Regions from separate parts of the Homo sapiens genome. Here region 2 is linked to region 1. The links are contacts of gene promoters, found by promoter capture Hi-C in human tissues and cell types (Jung and others, 2019). All regions are on one chromosome and are shown on one strand. Each heading gives the region's core, a stretch centred on a gene start or on the middle of the fragment in contact. The rest is flanking DNA. Distances are from core to core; before and after follow the strand shown. Region 1 holds the start of NFKBIA (NFKB inhibitor alpha). Region 2 holds the start of LOC107984628 (a long non-coding RNA gene).

What was found. The method cuts DNA at HindIII sites, captures the fragments that hold promoters and counts their contacts. A contact is called where the count stands out against the background at its distance.
Region 2: a contact is called between a fragment that was not itself captured here and the fragment with the promoter of NFKBIA in region 1, in 1 of the 25 tissues and cell types used here (dorsolateral prefrontal cortex).

The regions. Positions count from the first base shown.
Region 1 is chr14:35,403,499-35,410,463 of GRCh38, forward strand. NFKBIA (NFKB inhibitor alpha) reads right to left here and starts at 1,251. Exons shown (of 6, transcript NM_020529.3): 1 at 920-1,251; 2 at 192-300. The coding sequence starts at 1,146. RefSeq lists enhancers at 1-52, 83-132, 1,237-2,108, 1,313-1,712, 3,690-3,749 and silencers at 333-922, 1,073-1,242. The HindIII fragment of the contact is 5,540 bases long and covers 1-3,771 here.
Region 2 is chr14:34,695,925-34,702,701 of GRCh38, forward strand. It overlaps LOC107984628 (a long non-coding RNA gene), which reads right to left and starts at 5,416. Exons shown (of 3, transcript XR_001750947.2): 1 at 3,999-5,416. The HindIII fragment of the contact is 4,852 bases long and covers 1-3,980 here.

The DNA of each region.
Region 1 (6,965 bases), core at 1-2,500:
CCAGGTGGGTCATAAAGACCTCACCAAATCAGTGGAATTTCCTTCACTCTCTAGGATGTGGGCTGATGTGAAGTAAAAGGTGAGGGTAAATAGTGCTCAGTGGCCCTGAATTCAGAAAGGATCTGGGGTGACTCTGCTACATCAGCTACGTCCCAGGGTCAGAGAGAACCCGGGCCAGGCAAGCGGCGCACCTGCTGCAGGTTGTTCTGGAAGTTGAGGAAGGCCAGGTCTCCCTTCACCTGGCGGATCACTTCCATGGTCAGTGCCTTTTCTTCATGGATGATGGCCAAGTGCAGGAACCTGTGGGGAAGAGAGGGAAAAACCCCAGGGGTGGTGAGTGCACCGCGTGGGGCCCAGGGAGGCGCGGGCTGCGGGGGATTGCGCAAGGCCGGGGTTTCTGGAGGCCGAGGCCGCGGTGTTTTCCGCGAGGTTATTATGAGCTGAGTGTTCCTGGCAGGCGCCCAGGGACTTTCCGCCCCCCTCCCCCCGCGGCCCCGGCGGGCGCCGGCCAGACCGCCCCGCCCTCCCGCCAGCTCGGAACGCCCTGTACTTCCCCTCCCGGCTGCTCGGCGCCCGCCAGCGGCCAGAAACTCCCGCCCCGCCTTATGCAACCGGGGACTTCGCGTCCCCGCTGCCGCCCCGCCCCCGGCCTAGAGGACGGGTCTGGGGGGAGGGGGCGTGTGGCGACGCTGCCATCCACCAGGGCCCAGCCGCCGCCCCTCCGAGTTGGGCCGGTGCCCCGCGCGGCCCTGCAGCCCTGCAGCGTTCGGGGCGGTGCAGGAGCCCCGGGGTGCCGCGGCGCCCGCCCGGCTGCATCGCTGGTCCCCCGGCTCGGGCTCCAGGCCCGGCGCCTCCCACCCCCAGGCCGCGCGCGTCCCGCCCTCCCGACGACCCCCAGCCCCGGGCCTCCGCCACTTACGAGTCCCCGTCCTCGGTGAGCTGCTGCTTCCAGGGCTCCGAGCCGCGCGGCACCTCCTGCGGCTCGAGGCGGATCTCCTGCAGCTCCTTGACCATCTGCTCGTACTCCTCGTCTTTCATGGAGTCCAGGCCGCTGTCGTGGCGGTCGTCCAGTAGCCGCTCCTTCTTCAGCCCGTCGCGGGGGCCCTCCATGGCCCACTCCTGGGGGCGCTCGGCCGCCTGGAACATGGCGCGGACGAGCTGCGGGCGCTGCTGCGGGTGCGCTGGGCCGCGGGCTGCGCGCTGCTTCCTCGCTGGGGCGCTGGCGGGCGGGACGGCGGCACGGACTGCTGTGGGCTCTGCAGCGCCGCCGCGGCGCCCTATAAACGCTGGCTGGGGATTTCTCTGGGGCGGGGTCAGGCTCGGGGAATTTCCAAGCCAGTCAGACCAGAAAAAGAGAACTGGCTTCGTCCTCTGCTAGGGGGAAAAAGAAGCCTAAACCCTGAGCTGGGGTTCATCGGAGAAACTCCCTGCGATGAGCCACTAGGGTCACGGACAGGGAACTTTTTGATGAGCGCCGAGTGGCTGGAAAGTCCTTCCGACCAGGCCCCCTCCCCCCGGTACTTCCCTGCAGCCTGCACCCTGTAATCCTGTCCCTCTGCAAGTGAGCCTTCTTTCCCTGGGGTTTCCCACGATCGATTTGAATTGGGGTCGTCGGCTGCTGAGATCCCAAGGACGCCGACCTGATGGGCGGTCCCTCTTTGGGGTTTGCCAACCTGCCGGTCCTTTCCGTTTTTTGATCTTTTGAAAACGCAAGAGTGGAAATGATGGCTGGGCGTAGGGATTTGCTTTCCCCAGACTTCTAAGGGGAAGGACGCACTGTGGTTAGGGGGCTGCAGGCCGCGCCGGTGTTTCTGCCTATACCAGGCTCTTTGCAGCAAAGGAACTTTTAGCTTCGCCCCCACCCCCCCACGCACCCCCGCCAGGTAGAAGTTGTGAAAGCTTTGGAGGAGTGAAAAGCCTAAATCCTTGGAGAACTCTCAAATCACTTCCTAGGGATGAACAGCCCTGTTGACTGGGGGAGGGGCAAACGCTCCCTGTATGGGGAAACTGCTGAATAGGACCATGATTTTTTTTGTTTCCCAAGTAAAGCAAGGTGTTAATGTTTGTAGTGGTGGTTGTGGATACCTTGCAATAGCAGAGTAGCTATTGTGTTCATAAGTAGCTATTCGTTTATGCTATCTGACCTACATTGTGCTCCCGCAGAAAAAGGATCGTGAGCCTACTTCTGGGCACCCAAATTCGAGGAGAACTTAGAGAAGGAGGCTGAAGAATGAGTTTAGTTAGTGCCTTAACCGCGATTGGACCTTAAGGACCACTAAGAAAGTAGTTGCCAGGCATCCTGCGGGAGGCTCAAGGTAGTCCCATCCTGCCCGCCCCTCCTTGCTCTCTTGTCCTGGGGGACAGTAGCAGTTGGACCCATTCACGCCACCTGGGTAGAAAGGGGTTTCGGCTCACTATGCTCTGGTTTCACCTGCAGAAATATAATTTATGCTCTCCACTCCACCTCCACCTCCAAGCCTGCAAGCCATGGACTGAATTCATCTACTTGGTAGAATTGGTACAGGCAAAATAAAGCAAACTTCGGTCAGAGCTCTTCAGAATTAGTCCCAGGAGGCCTCTGTAGTTCTGCAGAGATTTCTGGTGATTATTGCAATCATCTTTACCTTGACTGGCCTTGTACTAACCAATCCTTCCCCTCTCTTCGTATCTCCACCCCTCCCCTAATATTAGAATGAAAGAAATCTGACTCGATAGAGAGAGACCAAGTATGAAGGGAAAAAAATTAAAATCAGATAGACCCTCCAGGGTAATAATGATCACATGTTACAATGAAAACTTCCCAGGGATAGACACCATTGTCTCTGCAGGTTTATGATATGCAAATCTACAATGATTGAGGCAAGGTGAAACAGTGACTGCAATGGGACATCTCAATTCCAGGTTCTATCTTTACTTGACTGCACATTAGTTGGAGAGGTCAGTTAACTTTTTTGTGGTATACTTAACTTTTATAATAAGATTAGATTGAATGTTACTTAAGGTCTTTTCTAGCTTAAAAGTCATATTGCTTGTCTACAAATGCATGCCTAACTCTCCTTTGTAAGGGTGACCATGGCTCTTGGAAATGTCAGGGTATAAATTTTTGAAAGAATTCCAGCGCCTTATGTACCACATTGTTCTCAGAACTAATCTTGTAAGATAGATATTGTTCCTACTTCCCTAAAAAGAAACTGAAATGCATAGAAATTTACCCAGGAACCCCTTGGCAGTATATTAATCATTTGGCCAAAGCAGTCTTAGTATTAACACTTTTGAAAACACGCTGTGAAAATCAGACTGACTACACTATAATTTGGAATGTACTCAAAAGTATTTTCTACTCCAACTGTTAGGGAAAATAAAGGGTGGGTGTCCCCTGACCCCCATCTGGGGATAGTCACTTCTTTTAAACAAGTACAGAAACATCAAACTCTAAATGTCCCAATTATAGAGGATACATCAGAAGAAGATATTTGGCTTCAGGTATAAAAATGGTTATAAAAAATAAAAATATCTGAGGAATAAGGTTTTTTTGCACCACCTTCTATGGTTTTATATTTCTGGTAGCCTTCAGGATCTTGGTGTTTATTCCTGATTGTTTTGTGTGACACCTAGTGGTAAGAGTAAGGCACAGGCGTTCCTTGATTTGTCATAGTGCCTTTTGCAAAAATTGGGAGGTGCTGAGCCTTGATGACTTGTCCCTACAGTGGAGATTTCCAAGGAGGTACCTATTGTTTTCCTGCGACTCTGGGAAACAGTTTTGAATAATGTGATCCAACAGGTTTTCTCCCCATCATCTATAGCGCTATATGGTTTAAGTCAACAAACATTACAACGTGGGTGAAAAAGAATATACACTTGGAAATTAGAACCATGAGCAGACTGGGCAGAAGACAACAAGAGGGTCTGGTTTTGATTTAGAAAGACCTTTATGGGCCAGGAGTTGTGGCTCACTGCTGTAATTTCAGCACTTTGGGTTGCTGAGGCAGGAGGATTGCTTGCCACCCAGGAGTTGGAGACCAGCCTGGGCAACAAGGCTAAACTCTTGTCTCTACAAAAAATATAATTAGCAGAGTGTGGTGGCAGGTGCCTGTAGTCCCAGCTACTCCAGAGGCAGAAGTGGGAGAATTGCTTGAGCCTGGGAGGTGGAGTTTGTAGTGAGCCATGATGGCACAACTGCACTCCAGCTTGAGCAACAGACTGAGACCCTGTCTCAAAAAGAAAAAAAAGAAAAAGAAAGACCTTTATGGACCCTTCAGCACTCAGATTTTTCTCCTCCTCATTGTCAAACATTCTAGCTAACATAACCGTTAAAAAAAATGTTAAAACTGTAGGCTGTGCGCAGTGGCTCACGCCTATAATCTCAGCACTTTGGGAGGCTGAGGCAGGTGGATCATGAGGTCAGGAGTTCGAGACCAGCCTGGCCAACATGATGAAACCCCGTCTCTACTAAAGATACAAAAAATTAGTCGGGTGTGGTGGTGCAGATGCTGCTTAGGAGGCTGAGGCAGGAGAATCACTTGAACCGAGGAGGCAGAGGTTGCAGTGAGCCGAGATCGCGCCATTGCACGCCAGCCTGGGCAACAGGGTGAGACTCTGTCTCAAAAAACAAAACAAAACAAAACAAAATACTTTAGATAACTGATTTTTAATGTTATTTGGCCTTTTTAATGCATAAGGCAAAATAATAAGTTACACCTCAAAGCTGCTTTGTATTTTGGCCCAGGACGCAGCCGTAGGAAATGACAGGACGGCCAGTGATGCTCCAGGAGCACCCCCATGGGAAAAGGAGCATCGCCAGGGCCTGGTTTGGCTGCAGGCACTTCAGGCACTCCTCCTGCATGGAACAAGCACAGTATGGACAAAACCTATTGCCTGAAGTGCCATGGAGAGAGTCTACAAGTTCAGCCAGGTGGTCCAAAATCCTCAGGGCAGGGTGGCCTGTGTCAACTGGCCTGGCCAATTAAAACTAAATTGTTTTGGCTACAGCAAATTCAACTCTGGAATCAGGCTACCTATTGCTCAGTGCAGCTAGGCTGGAAGAAAGACGAGCCATGACAGAGTTCCTGAAGAGCAAGGCAGGTGCACTCCCAACTGGCAGCCCCACTGTGAAATTCTAAATATTCTGCTTTCAGTCTCAGGTTGTCTTCTTTCTTGCTATCGTGGTAGCAACTGTCTGCATCCTCTTCAGAACAGGGAGCCCCCAAGCTATGGATCTTTTCCCATAGAAAAACAAGGCTGGGGGCGGTGGCTCCGACCTATAATCCCAGCACTTTGGGAGGCTGAGGCGAGCTGATCACCTGAGGTCAGGAGTTCAAGACCAGCCCGGCCAACATGGTGAAACCCCATCTCTACTCAAAATACAAAAATTAGCCAGGCGTGATGGCACATGCCTGTAATCCCAGCTACTCGGGAGGCTGAGGCAGGAGAATCACTTGACCCTGGGAGGTGAAGGTTGCAGTGAGCTGAGATCGTGCCATTGCACTCCTGCCTGGGCAGCAGAGAGAGACTCTGTCTCAATTAAAAAAAAAAAAAAGGAAAAACAGCTGTCAGAACCTTCATTTGTAGTGAAGTGAAAATAAGACCGTCAAATCCTTAATGTGTTTCCTTTGCTACAAATTCTGCAATTTAATGGAGATCAAAGCTTTAAAGGATCTCAAACTCAAAATACTTACGCATAGGGAGCAGGCAGATTTCACAGATGAGTGAAACAGACCATTTGAGTCTGAAAGGAGTGGGATCTCCAACAGCTTAGGTCAGGGTGTGTACTTCCCTCATACTTAGCTCAGACAACTTTTGGCATGTAGCACCTTCAGTTCAGTAGTGACCTTCTATTGTTAAAGAAATAAAAAAAATTGGCCCAGCTCCGTGGCTCATGCCTGCAATCCCAACACTTTGAGAGGGTGAGGCAGGAGGATCACTTGCGTTTAGGAGTTTGAGACCAGCCTGGGCAACATAGTGAGACCCCATCGCTATAAAAATAAAAATAAAAAAATTAACCAGGTGTGGTGGCATACACCTGTAGTCGCACCTACTTGGGAGACTGAGGTGGGAGGATTGCTCGAACCTGGGACGTTGAGGCTACAGTGGGCCATGACTGTGTCACTGAGCTCCAGCCTCAGCAAAAGAGTGAGACCTTGCCTCAAACAAACATAAAAACATTATGAAAACTAAACACAATGCATTTCTGCATCTATTGGCTAAACAGAGCCTATAAGCTCTGAGTTTACAACCTCTTTTTCAGCCAAGGTATGATGTTTTAATTGTGCTTTGCAAGAGGCACAACCTTCTGCTCTTGGCATCATGGGTTCTCTGCTCCTGTGTAACAGGAGACTGGGACAGTGTGTCCATCCATGATGCGCAGGGCTGCTCCTGCCAGGCAGGGTTAGGATTAGGGGCTCTAACCTCTGAAAAGTGAATTTTTCCTCCCTCAAACCAAGTATTTATTTGTTTTGTTTGTTTGTTTTTGAGACAAACCAAGAGTTTTGCTCTTGTTGCCCAGGCTGGAGTGCAATGATGTGATCTTGGCTCACTGCAACCTCTGCCTCCCGGGTTCAAGTGATTCTCCTGCCTCAGCCTCCTGAGTAGCTGGGATTGCAGGCACCCGCCACCATGCCCGGCTCATTTTTTGTATTTTGGGTAGAGACAGGGTTTCACTATGTTGGCTAGGCTGGTCTCAAACTCCTGACCTCAGGTGATCTACCCGCCTTGGCCTCCCAAAGTGCTGGGATTACAGGTGTGAGCAACCATGCCCGGCCTGTTTGTGTTTTTGAGACAAGGTCTTGCTGTGTCACCTAGGCTGGAGTGCTGTGGCATGATCACAGCTCGCTGTAGCCTTAATCTCTTGGGCTCAAGCAATTCTCCCACCTCAGTCTCCCATGCAGTGGGACCACAGGCACATGCCACTGTGCCTGGCTAATTTTTTTTGAGACGGAATTTCATTCTTGTCACCCAGGCTGGAGTGC
Region 2 (6,777 bases), core at 305-2,804, 710 kb before region 1:
TGGAGAAACCCCATCTCTACTAAAAATACAAAATTAGCCAGGTGTGGTGGCACGTGCCTGTAATCCCAGCTACCCAGGAGGCTGAGGCAGGAGAATCGCTTGAACCCGGGAGGCGGAGGTTGCAGTGAGCCAAGATTGCACCACTGCACTCCAGCCTGGGCGACAGAACAAGACTCCATCTCAAAACAAAACAAAGAAACCCAACAGATAAACTTCTTAAAATAAAACCTCTCCTACTGTACAGAGTTGACAATAAGCATTTAGAAACTTTTACAGCCATTTGACCTGGCCATGACATCCAAACCTGGAACCAGTGGACTTGTCAGGTTGAACAGACTATAGACCAATCTGGTTGTTGCCCAGCTCTAGGGATGCATTGCATCTGGTGCAAGCTGCATACTAGTCATGAACAGTAGGACCCTGTTGTCAATCTATGACAGATTGAAAATTAAATATGTGCTTCATCATAGACGTTTGAAAAGCACTGGTTTATACCACACTGTTCTGCTTCATCTCTTATTCAGTCTTCAAGCCATTTCCATTTGGTATCTGCCCTTCACCTGCTGAAAATGCCACAGGAAAGGTCACTGACCTTCATAGGGCCAAATTCAGTGTATTATTTTTTTGTCCCCATTATATGTGACATCTCTGCAGCATTTGGCACCCTCTGCTTTGTAACATCACAGAAGGTATGTTCTCCTCCTACCTCTTTGACAATTCTTTCCTTTTTCTAGGCTTCTCTTCCTTTGCCCACTCTTGGACTGTTTCTCTTCTTCTACGATACTCACAAATTTTTGCTGGGCGTCTTATTGATGCTCCATGGTTTTAACTGTATGCTACTGATTTCCAAGCTCTATTTCCAGGGTTATAAACTTGATGGTATGTTAATGTGCTTAAGACAAAATAAATCAGTTTAAAGGTGCTTTTTTTTTTCAAGATAAGCAGAGAATCAGTTTTTTTTTCATTTATCTATTTAAAAAGTGCTTATTTATTTTTTAAGAGAAGGGGTCTCACTCTGTCACCAACGCTGGAGAATAGTGTTGCACTAAGCAACACTATTTTTAATGTAAAAAATGTATATTATTCAAAAACATTACTCTGAAGAGGAGTTCGTAGTCTTTACCAGATGCCCAAAGAATCTTTGGAAAAAGGTTAGGAAGGCCTGTAGAAACTCATGCCTCCATGACAATACCCATGTGGAACACAGAGCTCCCAGTTGGTTTTTACTTTGGCCCTAGGCCTTCTCCCAAATGATTTAATGGAAGTGGTGATAAAAAGGCCCTTTTTGTTCTTGATATTAAGGAGATTCTTAGTGAAGAAAGCCTGTTGGAACATTTCAAATAACAATTCTAGGCTGGGCTCAGTGGCTCATGCCTGTAATGCCAGCTCTTTGGGAGGCCAAGGTGGGTGGATCACTTGAGGCCAGGAGTTCAAGACCAGCCTGGCCAACATGGCAAAACTCTGTCTCTACTAAAAATACAAAAATCAGCTGGGCGTGGTGGTGCACGCCTGTGGTCCCAGCTACTTGGGACGGTGAGGCATGAGAATCGCTTGAACCTGGGGGACAGAGTTTGCAATGAACCAAGATGTAGCCACTGCACTCCAGCCTGGGGGACAGAGTGAGACTCTGTCTCAATAAATAAATAAGTAAATAAATAAATACTCGATATTTGAAGAGAAATGCCATTTATTTCCTCTAAGTGCTGTTTAACACTCACTTCTAGGCTGGGTGCGGTGGCTCATGCCTATAATCCCAGCACTTTGGGAGGCTGAGGTAGGAGGATTGCTTGAGCCCAGGAGTTCAAGACCAGCCTGGGCAACAAAGTGAGACCCCATCTCTAAAAAAATAAAATATAAAATTAGCCAGGCATAGTGGTGGACTTATAGTCCTAGCTACTCAGGAGGCTGAGGTGGGAGGATCACTTGATCCCAGTTTTAGGTTGCAGTGAGCTGTGATGGCACAACTACACTCTGGCCTGAGTGACAGAGCAAGACCCTGTTTCAAAAAATAAATAAATAATAAAATAAAACTCACTTCTAGAAAATCTTTTCTCTTTTGGATCCGTTTTTTTTCTTGCATTCCGTTACTGCTTATTCAATTGCTTATCACTGTATACTTATTAGTTTACAGGTCTATTTTGTCTCTGCAACTGGATTATAAAAGTGCCCTTGAGAAGTTTATTTCTCAGGATGACCAGGACAGTGTTCTACAAATAGACACTCAATAAATGGTTCCTGATGAGTGCAAGGCCTCTCAGAAAAGTGAACTTATTTATCATAAAAGCAAGATGAAAAAACAATATGGTTAATTACAAGGAGGTAAAAAAGAGGAATCTTTGATTCTGGATGGTACTTGCGAAAGGAATTGTGTATTTATAAACATTGTGTTGTAAACATTGTGTTTATAAATAGCTTGTATTTACTAGTGAGGATTAAAAATCATCTTTAATAGAACGTGATCTTTTAAATGACCTGAAAATTCCATTTTCTATCACCAGCGAAGAGTAGGCCAGGTTTTCTCTAACGAGCAGATTGTGTGATAAAAGAACATTGCTAAATTAATTTCTTTCTAAAATATTTGATACAGGGGCTGGGTGTGGCGGCTTGTGCCTGTAATCTCAGCACTTTGGGAGGCCAAGGCAGGTGGATTACTTGAGGTCAGAGTTCGAGACCAGCCTGGTCAATATGGTGAAACCCCGTCTCTACTAAAAATACAAAAATTAGCTGGGCATCATGGTGGATGCCTGTAATCTCACCTACTTGGAAGGCTGAGGGAGGAGAATCACTTGCATCTGGGAGATGGAGGTCGCAGTGAGCCAAGAGCAGGACACTGCACTCCAGCCTGGGTGACAGAGCAAGACTCCGTCTCAAAAAAAAAAAAAAAAAAATCAAGTTTCTGAAAATTCCACCAGATGGGGAAATGCTGACAATATGCTAGTTAAATTTAGTATTCATCTCAATGTAGAATCTGTATTAATCTCCATGATATTAAAAATGCATAAAAAAATTTGATAGAGGAATTTGGCCATGGCTTATATGTGGACAGACAAGTTTTACAGTAAAAGCAAAAGCATAGAATAACAGAAAATATAACCATGACTTTTTAAACTATAGGATATTCCATTTCAAAGATGCTATAGTTATGGTAGTTTTAAAAATTTCTTATCTATTGAAACCATTGTTACATGTTGCTGCAAAGCGGCTTACAAATCTAAATTCAGATACGACACATGATTTTCCTAGTCAATGATTTATTTCATGCTATCAAAATGTTATCTTCATTAAAAATGTTTTTAATGCCGGGCATGGTGGCTCACGCCTGTAATCCCAGCACTTTGGGAGGCCGAGGCGGGTGGATCATGAGGTCAGGAGATCGAGACCATCTTGGCTAACACGGTGAAACCCCGTCTCTACTAAAAATACAAAAAATTAGCCGGGTGCGGTGGCGGGCGCCTGTAATCCCAGCTACTCAGGAGGCTGAGGCAGGAGAATAGCATGAACCCGGGAGGTGGAGCTTGCAGTAAGCCGAGATAGCACCACTGCAGTCCAGCCTGGGCAAAAGAGCGAGACTCCATCTCAAAAAAAAAAAAATGTTTTTAATATATTTTTCTTTCCACATTTATAAATTTCCTGAGCCAATTCTGAAGCTTAAATGATCCTAAATGTCTACAATACTAAAAATATAGTCAATATTTTCCAAATAATTATTAAAGCTCTGCATTCTTTCATTTAATTTTGAAATTAATCAAGTCCTGTCATTTCTCCTACATACCTCTCAAATCCACCTACCCCAAATGTATTTGCCACTGCCTTGATTTAGGCATCTTAATCGCCTCCAATTTCTTTCTCCTTACACATATTCTTATCATGGTCATAAAACAATCAGGTTTGTGTTTCAGAAAGATCATACCACTCCTTTGCTTAAAACCCTGCACCAGCTCCTTAGCACAAAATTTCACATGGTATCCAATGCCCTCAATGATCTAGCTCATACCCACCTCTCCTGCACTTCTCTCATCACAGTGCCTCACGCTTGACTCAATAGCAGCTGTAATGAAACATTTGCAAGGCATCTGCGGTTTTTTTTTTTCTCTAGGACAATCCTTTCATACAGATTTCTGGTGAACTCTATCATCCTTTACAACCCAGCTCAAACATTACTTCTGGAAGGCCTTCTCCAAGCCCATTTCAACTCCAAAGTTAAGCACTCCCTCTTCTAAATCTAGTAGTAACATATGGTTGTATTTATCACATTGTATTACATCATAATTATTTGTTTATGTGCTTGCTTGCCTTCCCTATATCATGGAAAGCTTTTTGAGCCTAAGAAAGGTGCTTCGTGTTTGTTGAACTGAACTGAATTTGATCTAATGGTCTGAGCTGAGTAATTGGGAAACAGATGGGATGTTTCCAGAGTGATTCATAGTAGCCAGGATGATCATGTTTCTCCACAGCAAACATAAATCATGTTTCTTTAATCACAAGGATTACCAGACTTTGCTGGAATAGCAAACAAAATGCAAACTCTCTCTTAGTTAAATGAAGACTAAATATCCACGAGCTAATTAGTCAATGTATGATCTGCATAATTTGAGCCAAATTAGTAAATATCACTTTTTCATCAAATATAGATTGAGTGCTTCTGGCTTAGTGCAAAATGTATACATTATGTTTTATCTTACATCTTTATATGAAAGGGACAAAGTAGATTAGAGGATGGATTATTTACACTGTGCACCAGGAACTAGCAACTATTAAACTTTATCATACAAATACAAGGGGAAAAGTAGAATCCTGATATATTGGAAACTATTTATTTTGTAAAATAATTCCTTTGGGGAACAGTAAAAATCATGTCTATTATCAATTCCCAGTGTAACAAAAAACAAAAATGTCTATTATCAATTCCCAATGGCACAATAAACAGAAGAAAATTTTGTGGTTTCAGATCTTAATGGTAGATGGCACTAAGTCATGCAGCGAGCACTTAGGTAGGTGCAATGCATAATTTTCAAGATTCAAATCTGTTGTGACTAGAGCCACAACAGTTCTTTCTGGGATGAAAAATACCAAGGAATCTGCACAAACAATATTTGAGTAAAGTTTCCCTCTTACCAGCATATATTGATAACTTAAAACCAGTTTTAACTACAGGAATCTTCCTATTAGTCATAATAGCTTAACACAAGTAATTTGTAGTGTTTAAAGCTAACTCATGATTTAGCTTTCTTATTTGTTCTTTTCTATATTTTGCAGAGGTTCTCTATAAAACATGTTATTTTTGAAATAAAAATAAATACAATTTTCTGAGAGTTAGCCAGAAGAATATCATTCATATTACTTAATGATAGTAATCATATCAGTTAGCCCATTTTTAGGATGTTCTTATGAGAATATAATTTTTTTTTTTTTTTGAGATGGAGTCTCACTCTGTCACCCACGCTGGAGTGCACTGGCATGATCTCAGCTCACTGCAAGCTCCACCTCCCGGGTTCACCCCATTCTCCTGCCTCAGCCTCCTGAGTAGCTGGGACTACAGGCACCCGCCATCACGCCCAGCTAATTTTTTGTATTTTTTAGTAGATCTGTCTGCCTCGGCCTCCCAAAGTGCTGGGATTACAGGCGTGAGCCACCGCGCCCGGCCTAGGCTGTGTTTTTAACCCAAGGGTCATTTTCTTTTTTCTTTTTTTCTTTTTTTGAGACAGAGTCTCTCTCTGTCGCCCAGGCTGGAGTGCAATGGTGCAATCTCGGCTCAATGCAACCTCTGCCTCCTGGGTTCAAGCGATTCTCCCACCTCAGCCTCTTGAGTAGCTGGGATTACAGGCGTTCACCACCACGCCTGGCTAAGTTTTGTATTTTTAGTAGAGACGGGGTTTCACCATGTTGGCCAGGCTGGTCTCGAACTCCTGGCCTCAGGTGATCTGCCTGCCTTGGCCTTCCAAAGTGCTGGGATTACAGGTGTAAGACACCACGCCCGGCCCATTTTCTAGAATTCTATTTACTTATTTAATATATTGCAAAGAGGAAATCAGAAAGAAAGAAAACATCCAGCTCAGAACAGGAAGCTTTTTTGTTTGTTGTGGCAATGTTACTGAATGACACTTGCATTAATCCCAAAACATTTTTTTTCACAGCCAGAGCATGACACCTATCTAAATCAGTCACATGGTATTTCTTAAGAACTGCTATACTGTGATAAATATAATATAAAACAAAACATTTTTCTCTAGCAGGTAGATAAAAACAAAACAATGAAGTATTTAAATGCTTTCAAAATAAAAATAAACAGGATCTGCTTTGAAGTCAAAAAAATAAGGAGAGGGCCAAGCGCCGTGGCTTATGCCTGTAATCCCAGCACTTTGGGAGGCCGAGCTCAGTTGGTGGATCACTTGAGGTCAGGAGTTTGAAACCAGCCTGGCTGACATAGTGAAACCCCGTCTCTACTAAAAAATACAAAAAATTAGCTGGGCATGGTGGTGCGCGCCTGTAATCCCAGCTACTCAGGAAGGCCGAGGCAGGAGAATCACGTGAACCTGGGAGGTGGAGGTGGCAGTGAGCTGAGATCATGCGACTGCACTCCAGCAAGGCTCCATCTCAAAATAATAATAATAATAATTAATAATAATAATAATAATGAGATGGCCGGGTGTGGTGGCTCATGCCTGTAATCCCAGCACTTTGGGAGCCCCAGGTAGGTGGATTGCTTGAGGTCAGGAGTTCGAGACCAGCTTGGCCAATATGGTGAAACCCTGTCTCTACCAAAATACACAAAAATTA